2 separate regions of the Homo sapiens genome follow, and region 1 is linked to region 2. The links are contacts of gene promoters, found by promoter capture Hi-C in human tissues and cell types (Jung and others, 2019). All regions are on one chromosome and are shown on one strand. Each heading gives the region's core, a stretch centred on a gene start or on the middle of the fragment in contact. The rest is flanking DNA. Distances are from core to core; before and after follow the strand shown. Region 1 overlaps NECAP1 (NECAP endocytosis associated 1). Region 2 holds the start of M6PR (mannose-6-phosphate receptor, cation dependent).

Evidence for each region. The method cuts DNA at HindIII sites, captures the fragments that hold promoters and counts their contacts. A contact is called where the count stands out against the background at its distance.
Region 1: a fragment that was not itself captured here is called in contact with the fragment with the promoter of M6PR in region 2 in 1 of the 25 tissues and cell types used here (spleen).

The regions. Positions count from the first base shown.
Region 1 is chr12:8,091,985-8,099,150 of GRCh38, reverse strand. It overlaps NECAP1 (NECAP endocytosis associated 1), which reads right to left. Exons shown (of 8, transcript NM_015509.4): 5 at 6,367-6,475; 6 at 6,096-6,279; 7 at 3,448-3,550; 8 at 1,270-3,109. The coding sequence ends at 3,061. Among named protein-coding and RNA genes, the nearest start is that of NECAP1, 13 kb to the right of the region's middle. The HindIII fragment of the contact is 6,438 bases long and covers 966-7,166 here.
Region 2 is chr12:8,944,173-8,951,035 of GRCh38, reverse strand. M6PR (mannose-6-phosphate receptor, cation dependent) reads left to right here and starts at 1,391. Exons shown (of 7, transcript NM_002355.4): 1 at 1,391-1,548; 2 at 4,631-4,807; 3 at 5,452-5,618. The coding sequence starts at 4,632. It also overlaps a transcript of KLRG1 not described here. RefSeq lists enhancers at 689-818, 317-1,221, 1,222-2,127 and a silencer at 797-1,011. The HindIII fragment of the contact is 13,158 bases long and covers 1-6,863 here.

The DNA of each region.
Region 1 (7,166 bases), core at 2,935-5,434, 850 kb after region 2:
AGTCCTTTGATTGTTCTCTTTATCTTTTGTGTATCTACTATAGTTTTTGCTTTGTGGTTACCATGAGGTTTACATAACACTTTTTAACAGTTTATTTTAAGCTGATAATTTAAATCACATACAAAAACTCTGCACTTTAACTTTCCCTCCCATATATATTTTTTGTTTTGTTTGAGACAGGGTCTTACTATGTTGGCCAGGTTCGTCTTGAACTCCTGGTCTCAAGCAATACTCCCACCTCAGCCTCCCAAAGTGCTAGGATTACAGGCGTGAGCCACCACACCCAGCCACATTTTGTTTTTGATACCAATTTTCATATTTTCATACTGTGTATCCACTAACAAATTACTGTAGCTATAGTTTTATGGTTTTGGGGGGGTTTTGTTTGTTTTTTTTGGAGATGGAGTCTCACTGTCACCCAGGCTGGAGTGCAGTGGTGTAATCTTAGCCCACTGCAACCTCTGCCTCCCAGGTTCAAGTGATTCTCCTGCCTCAGCCTCCAGAGTAGCTGGGATTACAGGCACCCACCACTACGCCCAGCTAATTTTTGTATTTGTAGTAGAGACAGGGTTTCACCATGTTGGCCAGGCTGGTCTCGAACTCCTGACTTCTGGTGATCCACCCGCCTCAGCCTCCCAAAGTGCTAGCATTATAGGTATGAGCCACCATGCCCAGCCTTGATTCATGTTTTTTGTTTTTTCTTTTGAGAGAGTCTCATTTTATCATCCAGGCTAGAGTACCATGGTACAATCACAACTCACTGCAGCCTCGTCCTCCCAGGCTCAAGTGACCCTCCCACCTCGGCCTCCCAAGTAGCTAGGACTACAGGCACATGCTGCCATGCCCAGCTAATTTTTAGATTTTTTGTAGAGATAAGATCTCGCTATACTGCCCAGGCTGGTCTTGAACTGGCTTCAACCAATCTTCCCACCTTAGCCTCTCAAAGTGCTGGAATTACAGGAGTAAACCACCAACCACATCTAGCTAATTTATCTCCTGTGGCAATCACTGAACAAGAACTCCCAAGACCTTTTCTGGTTTCCAAAGTCTGTGGTTCTGACCTTAGTTATTTCTCTTATACTGATCCCTTTCATTTCTGCTGATTACAGTTAAGATATAAGAGGTGGCCTAGATCATGAAGATAATTTGAAGCAAATTAAATTAACTGTACCAGAAAATAAATAATGAATATTCATTGATTACACAGAGTGCTCTGTCATTTTAGAACCATGAACACAGAGGTCTAGTCTCAACTTCTTAAAAGCCTTATTTCTTAATAAAGAGTGATATAAATATCCTTTATTAACTACTGGTCCACTTATATTTGGTCAATTAAATTTAAAAGGTAATCAAATAAGCAAATTAAAAGATAAAAGAGACACTTTTTTCATATTTTTAATTACCATTATTGCACCAATACAGCATACACTTTATATACATATATCTTAAACATTTTCCATTTTTCAGGAATTCAAATACATAATATATTATCATCTCAAGAATACAAAGAACACAACATGGAGGAAGATTGAGAAAATAGGTTCCCAGTATTTAGTCACTAGTGATTCCACAGACTTTCCTTTTAGTGTTTTCTATTGGAATTTTAACATGTCCTGCTATGGCTCTGCAAGAATAGAGCTGCCTGGAAAAGGAGGCAATGAAAAGAAAATGGACCCAAAGTCAGAAAAAGTGAAGAAGAGAATCCAGGAAAGTAATATATTTTGAAACTAAACATAAGGACTCCCTTCGGCCAGAGTGTACATACCCAATAGGTGCAAAAAGGAAGCAATGATATCTTCCCATTTCATCCTCAAAATTGCTCGTTTAGAAACAAAATAGAAAGTACCCATTCACCTAAGAAGCAGAACTTTTTTCACAGCATTGTAATAGGAATGGCAGGGCAGAGGGAAAGGAAAGTAGTGGGAGAACAACTTGCTTTTAAGATACCCTGGGTGACAGGTATCAAAGCCTTGGGCAAAACCTGTCACAGTAAAGCTGTGACTCTCCAACTTCCTTCACAAATGACAATATACATAATAGCAGCTTTCTATTAAAGAACTACATGAACTGAAAAGAAATGTTTATGGAAAGGGGCCAGATACCCAGGCAGCAAGGCAATGAGGATACTAAACAAGAGTTAAGTGCTTTCAACCTCTCTGCTCTACAGATCAGGTTAAAAACTCTAAACCCTTCAACTTTAGGTCAAAGAACAGGGCAAATACAAATTAATGCCATGCTTCAAATGCAGCAACCAGATGGAGCTGCAAGAAATTAAACACTCCTATAGACTATCACTTGGAAAGCACAGCCTCTTGAACCTCCTTCATTACAGATACACCCACTGATCAAAGATGTTAACACAATTCAAACTCAACAAACAGAAAAGAGTAGTGGAGGTGCCACCAACACAACCCTCTTATCATAGAAAGAGACATGTAAACACACAAGAGGGTGATGGAGCTGCACCCAGCACTGGATGTTCACTGAGCACAATAAGCCTGAAGGAGACTACACAGCAGAGACCCAGGAAATAGGTCTTTCTCCATATCTACCCCTATCAAAATTCTGAATTTGTAAACACTGAGGTCAGCCTGTCCATTTTTAGTCCTGGGTTAGTGGAGAAGGAAGTTGCAAGGTTTTTGACTCCCCTGAAATTGCTAAATAGGGCTTCACAAAGAGGCACACAAGGGTCATGAGATGATTTTGAAATAAGTTAAAGAAATTAAAAGATGAGACAAATTTTACAGATGTTAGAGGTCATTCCCCCTCAAACAGACGCTGGCCTTTTAAGCCCTGCATAGTCAGCCAAAACTATGATAAGATCCACTAGTCCCCTACCTTGGTACTACGCAGGAGATAACAGATACTTTCTTGGCTGTACAAGTAACAACACAGGGGAGTGACATAAACCAGCTTGAATGTGATGGAGAAGCTATGAAAAAGATTGTCCAGTCATTCTGGTTCTGGGGAGGAAATGGGTTCCTAACTTCCCTCACAGATTGGTGCCCTCAAGGTCATTTTTATTCCTCAAGTCTGTCCTTAATGTCCTGCCAATGCCATTCAGAACTGGACCCAGTTGGATGGCTGTGGTGCCTGGTTTGGAACAGAGCTGCAAGACAGGAGAACAGAGAAAGCCAGAGACATAATATTAGGATAACAACTCCATTCTTTACTTAATAGTTTCTAAGAAATCACTGCCTAGAATTTCCAAAACCACACTTCATGGCAATTCTACTTACAAAGGCCTGAAATATCCCACTCAAACCTCATCCTACAGCTTTTTTGTCCCCCCATTCCCAGCACTACTATATTTCCTTCACTAGAACTCTTCCAAAAGACTCTATGTGACCTGCATATCCATTGCTTCTCCAGATCAAAGATTTCAATTGACTGTACATATCTCCTACACCCTGATTGAGAGTATGCTAGTTTCACTATGCCCATTACCTGGAGGCAGTGCTGAAGTCTCCCCACAAGTCATTGCTTACAGAAACTGGAGTTGGTGCTGGTGTCGTGACAGGAGCAGGAGAATCCAAATCTAAAAGGATATCTAAACACAAGGTAAGAAAAGAAAAAAGAAAAACATAATCAAAATCTTGGAAGGGCCGGGCGCGGTGGCTCACGCCTGTAATCCCAGCACTTTGGGAGGCCGAGGCGGGTGGATCATGAGGTCAGGAGATCGAGACCATCCTGGCTAACAAGGTGAAACCCCGTCTCTACTAAAAATACAAAAAATTAGCCGGGCGCGGTGGCGGGCGCCTGTAGTCCCAGCTACTCGGGAGGCTGAGGCAGGAGAATGGCGTGAACCCGGGAAGCGGAGCTTGCAGTGAGCCGAGATTGCGCCACTGCAGTCCGCAGTCCGGCCTGGGCGACAGAGCGAGACTCCGTCTCAAAAAAAAAAAAAAAAAAAAAAAATCTTGGAGATGAGAATTTATGTTTGCACAAAAATCTGTATACAAATGCCACGGCAGCTTTATTCATAATGGTCAAAAACTGTAAACAACCTAGATGTCATTCCATGGGCAATAGTTACACACACTGGTATATCCATACCATGGAATACTATTCAGCAATAAAAAGAAACAGACTATTGACACACAACTTGAATGAATCTCAAGGGAATTATGCTGAGTGGGAAAAGCCTGTCCCAAAGGTTACATGCTGTATGATTCCTTTCATAGAACATTCCTGAAGTGACAAAATTATAAAGATGGAGAACAGACTGGTGATTGCCAAGCGTTAGGAATGGGGGAAGAAAGGATGAGAGGGAGATGGGTGTGGTTGTGTAAGGTTGACACAGGGGATCTTTGTAGTGATTAAACTGTTCTATAACCTGAAATGATGGTGGATCCATGAACCTACACATGACAAAACTGCAAAGAACTGGCCAGATGCAGTGGCTCACACCTGTAATCCCAGCATTTTAGGGGGCCAAGGCAGGAGGATCACTGAAGTCCAGAAGTTCAAGGCCAGCCTGGGCAACGTAGTGAGACTCTGTTGCTACAAAAATTAAAAAATTAGCTTGGTGTGGCAGTGTGCACCTGTAGTCCCAGATGTTTGGGAGGCTGACGCAGAAGGATCTCTTGAGCCCAGGAGTTTGAGGCTGCAGTGAGCTATGACTGCACCACTGTACTCTAGCCTGGGCAACAGTGTGAGACCCTATCTCAAAAAATAACAAAAAATCCTGCATAGAACTAAATATACAGATCCACACAAATATACACAGATGAGAACATGTAAAATGGTGTAAGCTGAGTAAGATGAGAAAGTGGTATCAACATCAATTTTTCATTTGTGATACTTGACAATAGTTCCACAAAATATTACCAATTGAGGGAAACTGGGAAAAGGGTAAACAGGATCTCTTCATATTATTTCTTACAACTGCATGTTAATCTACGATTATCTCAAAATAATAATTTAATTTAAAAAAAATCTTAGATACTATCCCCAGTGGCTTCTGGCAACACTTACCAAAAGAAGCAGGCTATAATATTTTCACCTCAAAAATTCCAGAAAGAGAAAGCTTACCCTTAGTAATCAATTCAACAAATTATCTGCACTGTCCAATACATTAAGTTAAAATTCTCAGATTCTAAGACACAGTTCTCTAATCTCAGAAAAATTCTTTTCTCAGTTCCAATGCTCTCATTTTTCAAATGAGAAGATATAACCATATTTATTCTTTCTCCCACCAAACAGAAAGAAAGAATGAAAGTGTATGGACAAACCTAGATATCTTCTTTTCTCCCAATTGCTCTTGTGAAGAAATGGGAAAGTTTAATAACATTTACTAAATGCCTACTATGTTCCAAGTGCTATGCTAGGTGCTGTCAATCATTTAACCCTCATGACCTTGGGGTGGTAATTATTTTATTTTATCTATTTATTTATTTATTTATTTTTGTTTGTTTCTTTGTTTTTTTATGAGACAAGGTCCCACTCTGTCACCCACACTGGAGTACAGTGGCACAATCATGGTTCACTGCAGCCTCCCAGACTCAAGCCATCCTCCCACCTCAGCCTCCCAAATAGCTGGGTCTACAGGCGTGCACCACCACGTCCAACTAATGTTTGTATTTTTTTTGTAGAGATGGGATTTCATCATGTTGCCCAGGCTGATCTCAAACTCCTAAGCTTAAGCAATCCACCCACCTCAGCCTCCCAAAGTGCTGGGATTACAGGCATGAGCCAAGGTCCCCGCTGGGGTGGTTTTACATCTCCAGTTTGTAGATAAGGCAATTGAAACTCAAAAAACTTAAGTAATGTTTACCAAGCACATTCAAATATAAAGTAGCAGAGCCATGACCAAAATCTTGGTCCATCTGACTCAAAAGCTTATAAGCATCTAACCAAGAAAAAAATGAAGGAAATTGTCATTTTAATAAGCAAATATTTTCTGCCAAAGAACCTATGAGATACTATGACTCTTAGTTCACTAGAAAAGCTTTGATTCCTTGCTAGAAGCTGACAGAATCACCTTGTCAGTACCATGAGCTATTTCATAGCAAAAACATTAACTCTCCTTGACAAACAGGTGTTGCTTAATTAAAACATAAGATTGGATTTCTCAAAATTAGAAGTACTAGATTTACCTGCATCACTGCCTCCATGGTTAGATTTCGGAATGGGTGGTGGGGTGACATGATTGCTGATGGCAACTGAGGAGGATGGTGGGGGAATAGTGACTTTGCCTCCTGGCGGGGGTGGGAGTAAGCTCAGACCCCCACCCCTTGCAGTCCTGGGCTTAGAAGCACCTCCTTTCTTGTTTGTAATGTTCTACAAAAGAAAAAAAGAAGAGCAAGAGAAAGATGTCATAGGCTTATGGAAGCACAGGAAAACAAAATTTTTAAAAACCATACTCACCCCGATACACAACTTGATGGTTTGTCCTTCCTTGAAGCCCAGATCCAACTTAGGACGAGCATCCATTTCTTGAGATTCCTTGGAAATCTCAGATTCCTGCTTTACCCACCTTTGGGAACACAGCAAGTTATCTTAGTTTGAGATTTCCTGAAAGCAGAGTCTGACATACAAATTTGGGTGTATTTACTTTTATGAAATGAGATTCCAGAAAACACAGTGAGAGATAAAAAAGAGTGAGAAACAGAAGGGAAAAAAGCCAAGAAAGAAAACAACTGGGGTTCAATTCCACTGGGGACTCTCTGAGAAATCTCACGGAATACGTATTAGAATTGCCCCTTCCAGAAGGATGGTATTTAGCCACCAATTCCCATTCCCCACAGTTGAGGGCTGCTCCTGAGGGGGTGTTAGTTTCTTAGTCTTTCCAAGTTAAAGCTTGCTCTTAGCTTTCTATAACTTCAGAGAGTCCTAAGGCAGAAAAGGAGAGATATGCTTGCTCTTGAGGTAGGAAGCTGACAGTGTGCACAGTGCTGTCAACCACAGCTGCACCAAAATCAAGTGGGCTAAAGAAATGTTGCAAAAGTCACAAAACATGTCAGCTACATAAGGTAACAAGAGTGGCACACGACTCCCCACATAAAGCCCTGCTGTTACCATAGGCCTCCCTCTACCACCTAAAAGACGGGGCAAATTCGACAGAGCATCATTTCAAACTACTGCACAAGGGATCTGAAATATATTGCAGGCTATAAGGAAAGGAAACAGAATAGATACAAAGATGACCTAAGGAAACAAAAGTGAAT
Region 2 (6,863 bases), core at 142-2,641:
TATTGGGGCAACATCCAACCCAGATATGATTACTACCTAGCCTGAACTGAATGTATTACTAATAAACAAAGAAATGCAGAATGGCATACAGTCGGTAAAGCGTAGTGCTTGAGAGCATGGATTATGGAGACTATTTAAATACTGGCTCCATAACTTAATAGCTTGGGACCCACGGTGTTACTTAGCTTCTATCTGCTTTAATTTACTCATCTGTAAACTTGGGATAAGATACTTCCTCATAAGGTTGGTGTGAAGACCAAGTGAATTAACTATCGTTTAAAGCACTTACAAAAGTGCCGGGCACCACCGAGATATGCATCCGTTAGCTTTTATTATTATTAGACTCAAAACACTGTAGTAGTTCTAATGAGAGGGGTAAGAATCAAAAATCCAGGCACCTGCATAGAGCCAGAGAGGCACACATAGAAGCAACGTAAGAGTGGAAGCGGAATGAAAACATGCTAAAGCCAGGTACAAGCCACAAGCGAGGGTCCACAGGAAGAAATTGTTAATTCTGAAGAGAGTGAATGCACGAAGTTACAGGAAAAATAACATCTGAACAGAGTTTAAGAATGAGCAGGACTTCAACAAGTGGCTAGTAAGACATAAGGAACCTACAAAAGATCTTAGCAAAGGCGCAAAGATTACCATCGTATTGCTCGTTTCTTCCTACTTTGCAGAAGTAACCTCTGGCGAACAGAGGTGGTTGCAGAGCATGCTTATCAAGCAAAATACCACGAAGCAGTAAGGAACGACAGAGATAACAGTAACAATAATAATTCACCCCAAGGTACTCAACTGGAAAAAGGAAATACAGAGGAGAGGTGTCGTTAAGAAAGCCAGGACGCACATCACGGCCCCGTCGCTGCACTACTCTCGTCTAGGGGTCAACAGTGGAGTCGAGACTCGAAGCTTCCACGCGGCGGAACAGCGTCCCTCTCAGGCGGCGAACGGGCTAGGGAAGCGCCCGGAGGAGACCTAGCGTGAGAACTACAACTCCCGCGGAGCCCGAGGGCGAGCTGCCTGCGTAACTTCCGCTTCCGCCACCTGCCCCTCTCACCCTCTTCACTCGAACCCTACCCGGGAGCGGTCAGGCGCGTGACCCCGCGTGACCGGGGTGCGCGAGCCGAGAGGCCCTGGAAGCGGGACTCTGGGACCCCATTGAAAGAAAGGCAACCAGAAAAGGCGAAACGACAACCTCGATAGTGATTGGAGCTGATGGAACGAGGGCGGAGCTAAAGTCCCAGAATACTGGCCAATCAGAGTTTAAGATTATCAGGGAGCCCGGGAAGGGGAAAGGGGCGAAATGGTTCTATGGTCACATGCCGCGGGGTCTGGTGGGAGGAGCGGTTGCCCAGCGGCCTCTTGGCGCTTCCTGTTTCCGGTTCCCAGAGTGGGGCACAGCGAGGCGCTAGGGGGAACGCTGGCCTCTGAAACTAGCTCTGGGACCGGGGTCTGCGGCCGGCCCCTAGCTGGCCCCGTCTCCCATCCCCAGAAGGGTATTCACTGGGGATTCTGAGCTTTGGCTACTCCAGTTTCCCACGACACGTGAGTGTGAGGGGCGTGGAGGAGGAGGCGGGCTGGGTTGCGCTCACACTTAAGCGTCTGTGACAGGAGCCGGAATCGCATTCTCCCTTGACCATGGTTCTAGCCAAAGATCTGGCTGAGGAGCCCTAAGGGTAGAATGGAGGCGGAGGCATGAGAGCGGAGAGTCACGGAGTTCCGAAAGGTGTGAGGGAGAAAGGACTTCCAAGACCAGAGAGGGGATTTACGATATTTAGAAAGCAGGGAAAGGAAAATACCCCAAGTATGGAGTCCGTTGGAGGTGTTGGTGGATTTATTTGTAGGAGGAATTTTGGCCTGCATCACGGTGGGAGGTCAAGTGGCATCATTTGGAGAGGGTATGGCTACAAGCGCTTGGAAAGTCGGGACACTAGACAGAGCGAGAATTTCTGGCACCCTGGGAGAGCTTTGAGGGGGATGCGACTGTGGTGTGGATAAGAATGGCTGATGGACGGATTATCTTGTGTTCCTCGTTGTGGGGAGCTTCCGCTCTTGGGACATAGCCGCTACTTGTCTGAGGCTCCTTCTCTCTTGAGTTCTTTCAGCATTAGGCCTTTTAGCCAATTGAGGCTGCTTTTCTAAACATGTAGGCTGCTGGAGAAAAAGGGATAAGGACTGCTACATCAGAAAGGAGCCAGCGGGAAGACAGTAGAAATTCCACTGGTAAATGGCCATGGCTGTCTTAACAGATGGGGAAGTGAGTGCTACAGAGGCCCAGTGGTGTAAGCTGCTTCCCAGTTGCTGGCTTAGTCATTGGCCACCCTAATAAAGGATAATTTTTAGCATTGCCAAATAAAATAGATCTGTCGTTAGAGAATAAGAAAACTGAAAGATTTTTCAAGATCATAAAATCCTGCTCCTTATTTCCAAAGTATATAGACAAACTCTTGTACCTTGAGAATCTAATTGTAGCATATTAAAAGGGGGCTACTGGGCCCTTCCATTTCATTCTCTTCCTGATTGTTGCACCCCTATGTTTATAAGTTTTCCAGCAGTTATCTTTATGCCACGAATCGTCTAAATTGCCCCAGTAACTTCACACACATTTAATATCTGTGTAATGTACAGCAAGTAATTTAACAAGTAATTCTGTAAAGCATCAGTTTTCTCATCTGTGAAGTATGAAAAATTATACCTATTTTCTGGGTTGTGAAGATGAATGAACATAATCTAGGGAAAACATTTAGCGCATATGCCACTGAATTAAAGAGAAGCAGCTTAAATTTAAAGACAAGCCTTAAGCAGGAAAGAAGAATACAGTATAAATTTATTATCCTAACTTTTTGAATAATAAGCAAATGAAAGATAGTTCAACTCAGCTAATGGCTGAGGTGTTTAACCTTTCATCCCTTCCTAATTTTGTGAGATTCCTTGTTCTAATTTAGGAAAAGAAATCAACTGTCAGTTTTTAATTAGGTCCTGAGAGACTGGAAAGGAAAATGGCAGGCTAAGTCAGTCTAGAAGAAGGAGTCTCCTATTTCTTTTTAGTGAGTCAGCTGGTCAAGTTGTGTGTTGAGCAGTGGGTTAACTTAGGGAAGGTGGGAGTTGGAGGTCTGAGTTCTTTATTTCACCTCCTATTCAGTCAACTGTGTGAGGAATCACTTCCCCTTCACTTCTTAGTAGAAAAAAAAAAAAACCCACAGTTTTGGCTGTCTACTCTCATCTCCAAAAAATTGTTATGCACATAGTGGAAATATACATGTAGTTGTTCAACACAGACCATGAGCTCTGGAGCTAGACTCTCTGGCTCACTCCACTAGCTGTGTCTCAGTTTTCTTACTGGTAAAATAGCAACAATAATTGTATTTACTCATAAGGTTGTGAGGATTAATTAGTTAATTAATATATGTTAAGTGCTTTGAACAGCACCTGGCCCAAGGCAGTAGTCTGTTGTTTCCTGCTGTTGTGTGGTTTCAGTGCATTAAATGTGTTATGAGGGCCTTGGACCTCTTGGTTAGCTATGATTATTCTATGGAAACTACCATAATATTACAGTAGAGAATTGATGTTTGGGGTACAGGAAGTCAGGTAGACAATTTCCCGGGATTTTTTGCTTTAGTGGGGTGTGGGAAGTGGAAGGTCAGATGTTAGGTTGTTTAGGGGAATGGGGAAAGTGCATTCACGGCCAAGGTTGGAGCTTCCATTTTCCCATCTTCAAACTCATTAGTACCCATGAAAATTCTGCCTGTTTCAAGTTTTATATTTTAAAAATGAGGTGGAGTAAGTGGACCCGCATGAAAAAGAACTAGAGAACTTTAAAGAATATTCAAACCAAAGTCCAGACTTGCAGCGTTTTTTGTAAGTGAGAAAAGTTTAGAAGAGTTAAATCAGGAAATTGTCCGTGATACTCTTGGAATAAACAAGTAGCAATGGCCTGAGGGATCATTAACAGATACCAGAGTAAAGTGTTTTGCAAGGGTAAGTCAGTCTGTCCTGGGTATGAAGATGGATAAGAGAAAAGAAAATGTTAGGTTTTGGTGGGGTTTTTTTGCCAAAACCACAATGACCTTTGCACCAGTCTAGTAAGTTTGGGAAAGAGAGCTGTCTGTGTGTTTTCATTCCTAGAGCAGTACAAGCAGCAGGTGCATTGAATTTACTCAATTGTAAAGTGGCTTGGTGATCCCCAATTTGTTGTCATTGATTTGTAGTGTAAAAGACAACTGTACTTATGGGAAGTCTAGAAACCCTTGAGATTTGTGACCTGTAGAGGCCAAAGAGGTTTCAGAAGACTACATCAAGCCATCAAACAGTAAAGAGGCAAGGATGGCTCCACCCAAGCTGTCATCATTCTTTTTTAAGTTCTTTCATTTCCCTCTTCCCAACTTTGTAGTTTGTTCTGAAAGACTCACCTATACATTAGACTACAAGTTACATATAAATGAATTTTCTGCTGCAGATGCTCTTGTTACAGAGATATTAAAATGTACTATGTGTTGCATATGCCAGAGAATCTTGTACTTTCTGGATAATTAAAATACCATCGATTTATTACACATTCATACGCTTTATCTCTTTCCTCTCTCTCCTGATCCTACCTGCCCTCCCCAACACACACTCTCTCCCAAAGGATGTTCCCTTTCTACAGCTGCTGGAGGACTGGACTGCTACTACTACTCCTGGCTGTGGCAGTGAGAGAATCCTGGCAGACAGAAGAAAAAACTTGCGACTTGGTAGGAGAAAAGGGTAAAGAGTCAGAGAAAGAGTTGGCTCTAGTGAAGAGGCTGAAACCACTGTTTAATAAAAGGTAAATGAGAAGAACCTTAAAGAGCTTGAGAAAATATTTATGTTAAAGTCTTTTCTTCTTACTGATTTTATTTCATAATGTGCTCTCTTTTATGACATAGAGCAAATTCTCAGCCCAGTTTTTAGTTGCTGTGTGCAGTTTTCTCATCTTTCACAGAAGTGTAGCTATTTCCAAGACTGGATCCAAGAGACCAGCTTGTAGAAATTTAAGGATTATTTGACACCTACATATAATAGGACTTTAGAAATATCAGATAAACATATTTAGGCCGACACATGTCATTATAAGTGTCAGGAACCTTCAGATATATAAATCTGAAGTTGGTCCCTAAGAAACGAGACTATCCGATGAACATGGGCCCTTATTCATTGGAACATGGTTACTAACAGGCATTCTAAAAATAACTAGAATATTGAGCTATCAAGATAGCTCAAGTGTGTTTTAATAATTCATCATCAGCAATAAGGATGGTCTGTCAAGGTTATGAATATCTTAAAATTAAACAAATATTCACTCAGCCATGACCTCAAATAAATAAATCGAGCATGTTGTTTGTTTTGTTTTAATTAAGGAAAGGGATGCTGTTATTCCTGAGGCTGATAGCTAGTAACTCTCCTCTTCTTTCTTCCCACTTCTCTTTACAGCTTTGAGAGCACTGTGGGCCAGGGTTCAGACACATACATCTACATCTTCAGGGTGTGCCGGGAAGCTGGCAACCACACTTCTGGGGCAGGCCTGGTGCAAATCAACAAAAGTAATGGGAAGGAGACAGTGGTAGGGAGACTCAACGAGACTCACATCTTCAACGGAAGTAAGAAAACTCCCCTTCCTACCATCGATTGACTAACTGATCCCAAGTCAATCCCTCTGACAATCCTGTATGTCTTGGCCGTTTCTAGTGTCTTCAGCATATCATACGTGTGGTTCGGCACACCTGAGACTGTAATATACCACAGGATGCCTAATTCCACAGCTCCTCTGTAAGCCACAGCTCAGGACAGTTGTGCATTAAAATCAGTGAAAAACTTATGCAAAATGAAGACTCTAGCCAGAATTGTTTTGTTTTGTTTTGAGACGGAGTCTCTCTCTGTCACCCAGCCTGGAGTGCAGTGGCACAATCTCGGCTCACTGCAACCTCAGCCTCTTGGGTTCAAGCGATTCTCCAGCCTCAGCCTCCTGAGTAGCTGGGACTACAGGTGTGTGCCATCATGCCCAGCTAATTTTTGTATTTTTAGCAGAGACAGGGTTTCACAATGTTGGCCATGATGGTCTTGATCTTTGACCTCGTGATCTGCCCACCTTGGCCTCCCAAGGTGCTGGGATTACAGGCATGAACCACCGCGCCCAGCCAACTCTAGCCAGAATTCTGTAGCCTAGAGTCCTTTTATTCACCCAAATACTTTTAATGAGTTTCACACTAGACTTACAAATACCAACCACCACCACCACTTTTCATCAAATTAATCAAAGTTTACCAGTTAAATTTTAAGAGCTCAAACTTTTTTTTGCAAACTACTCAGTCTGCAAAACTTTACCCACTGATTTTTGTGCTATGGTGGTGATATTTCTTAAAAGTCATATTGCTGGAGAGGACCATGTAAGCACCTATGGTCCAATTCCCTCCCATACAGATAAATAAGTTATACAAGGTAGCTATTTACTCCTGGTAAATAATACAATAAAAAAGTAACAAAAGGGTTTGGGGCTGGGGATCATGTGACCAGGTTCTCCTCCTGTTTCCTAATCCTGTGACTGGAAAGTCGTATCACCTTTTGACCTTGTTTTCTCATATGCAAAACTAGGAGCAGAATCTTTACCTTATTCACCTCACAATTACTGAATCAAATGATATTTTGCAAAAGAACTGAACACAGTAAATACTAAAGAAGAGATATGCATTCCAATCTTAGATATCCACTCTGAATTTATCTGGGGCTAAGTTGAAATCTTAGATGGGCTTACCCCTGCTGCTCAGCAATTGTATGGAACCTCTTTTTTTGCTTTTAGAAGGTATTCAGAAAATGAATCAGTGTTAAGGTATGGATCATAATTGGTT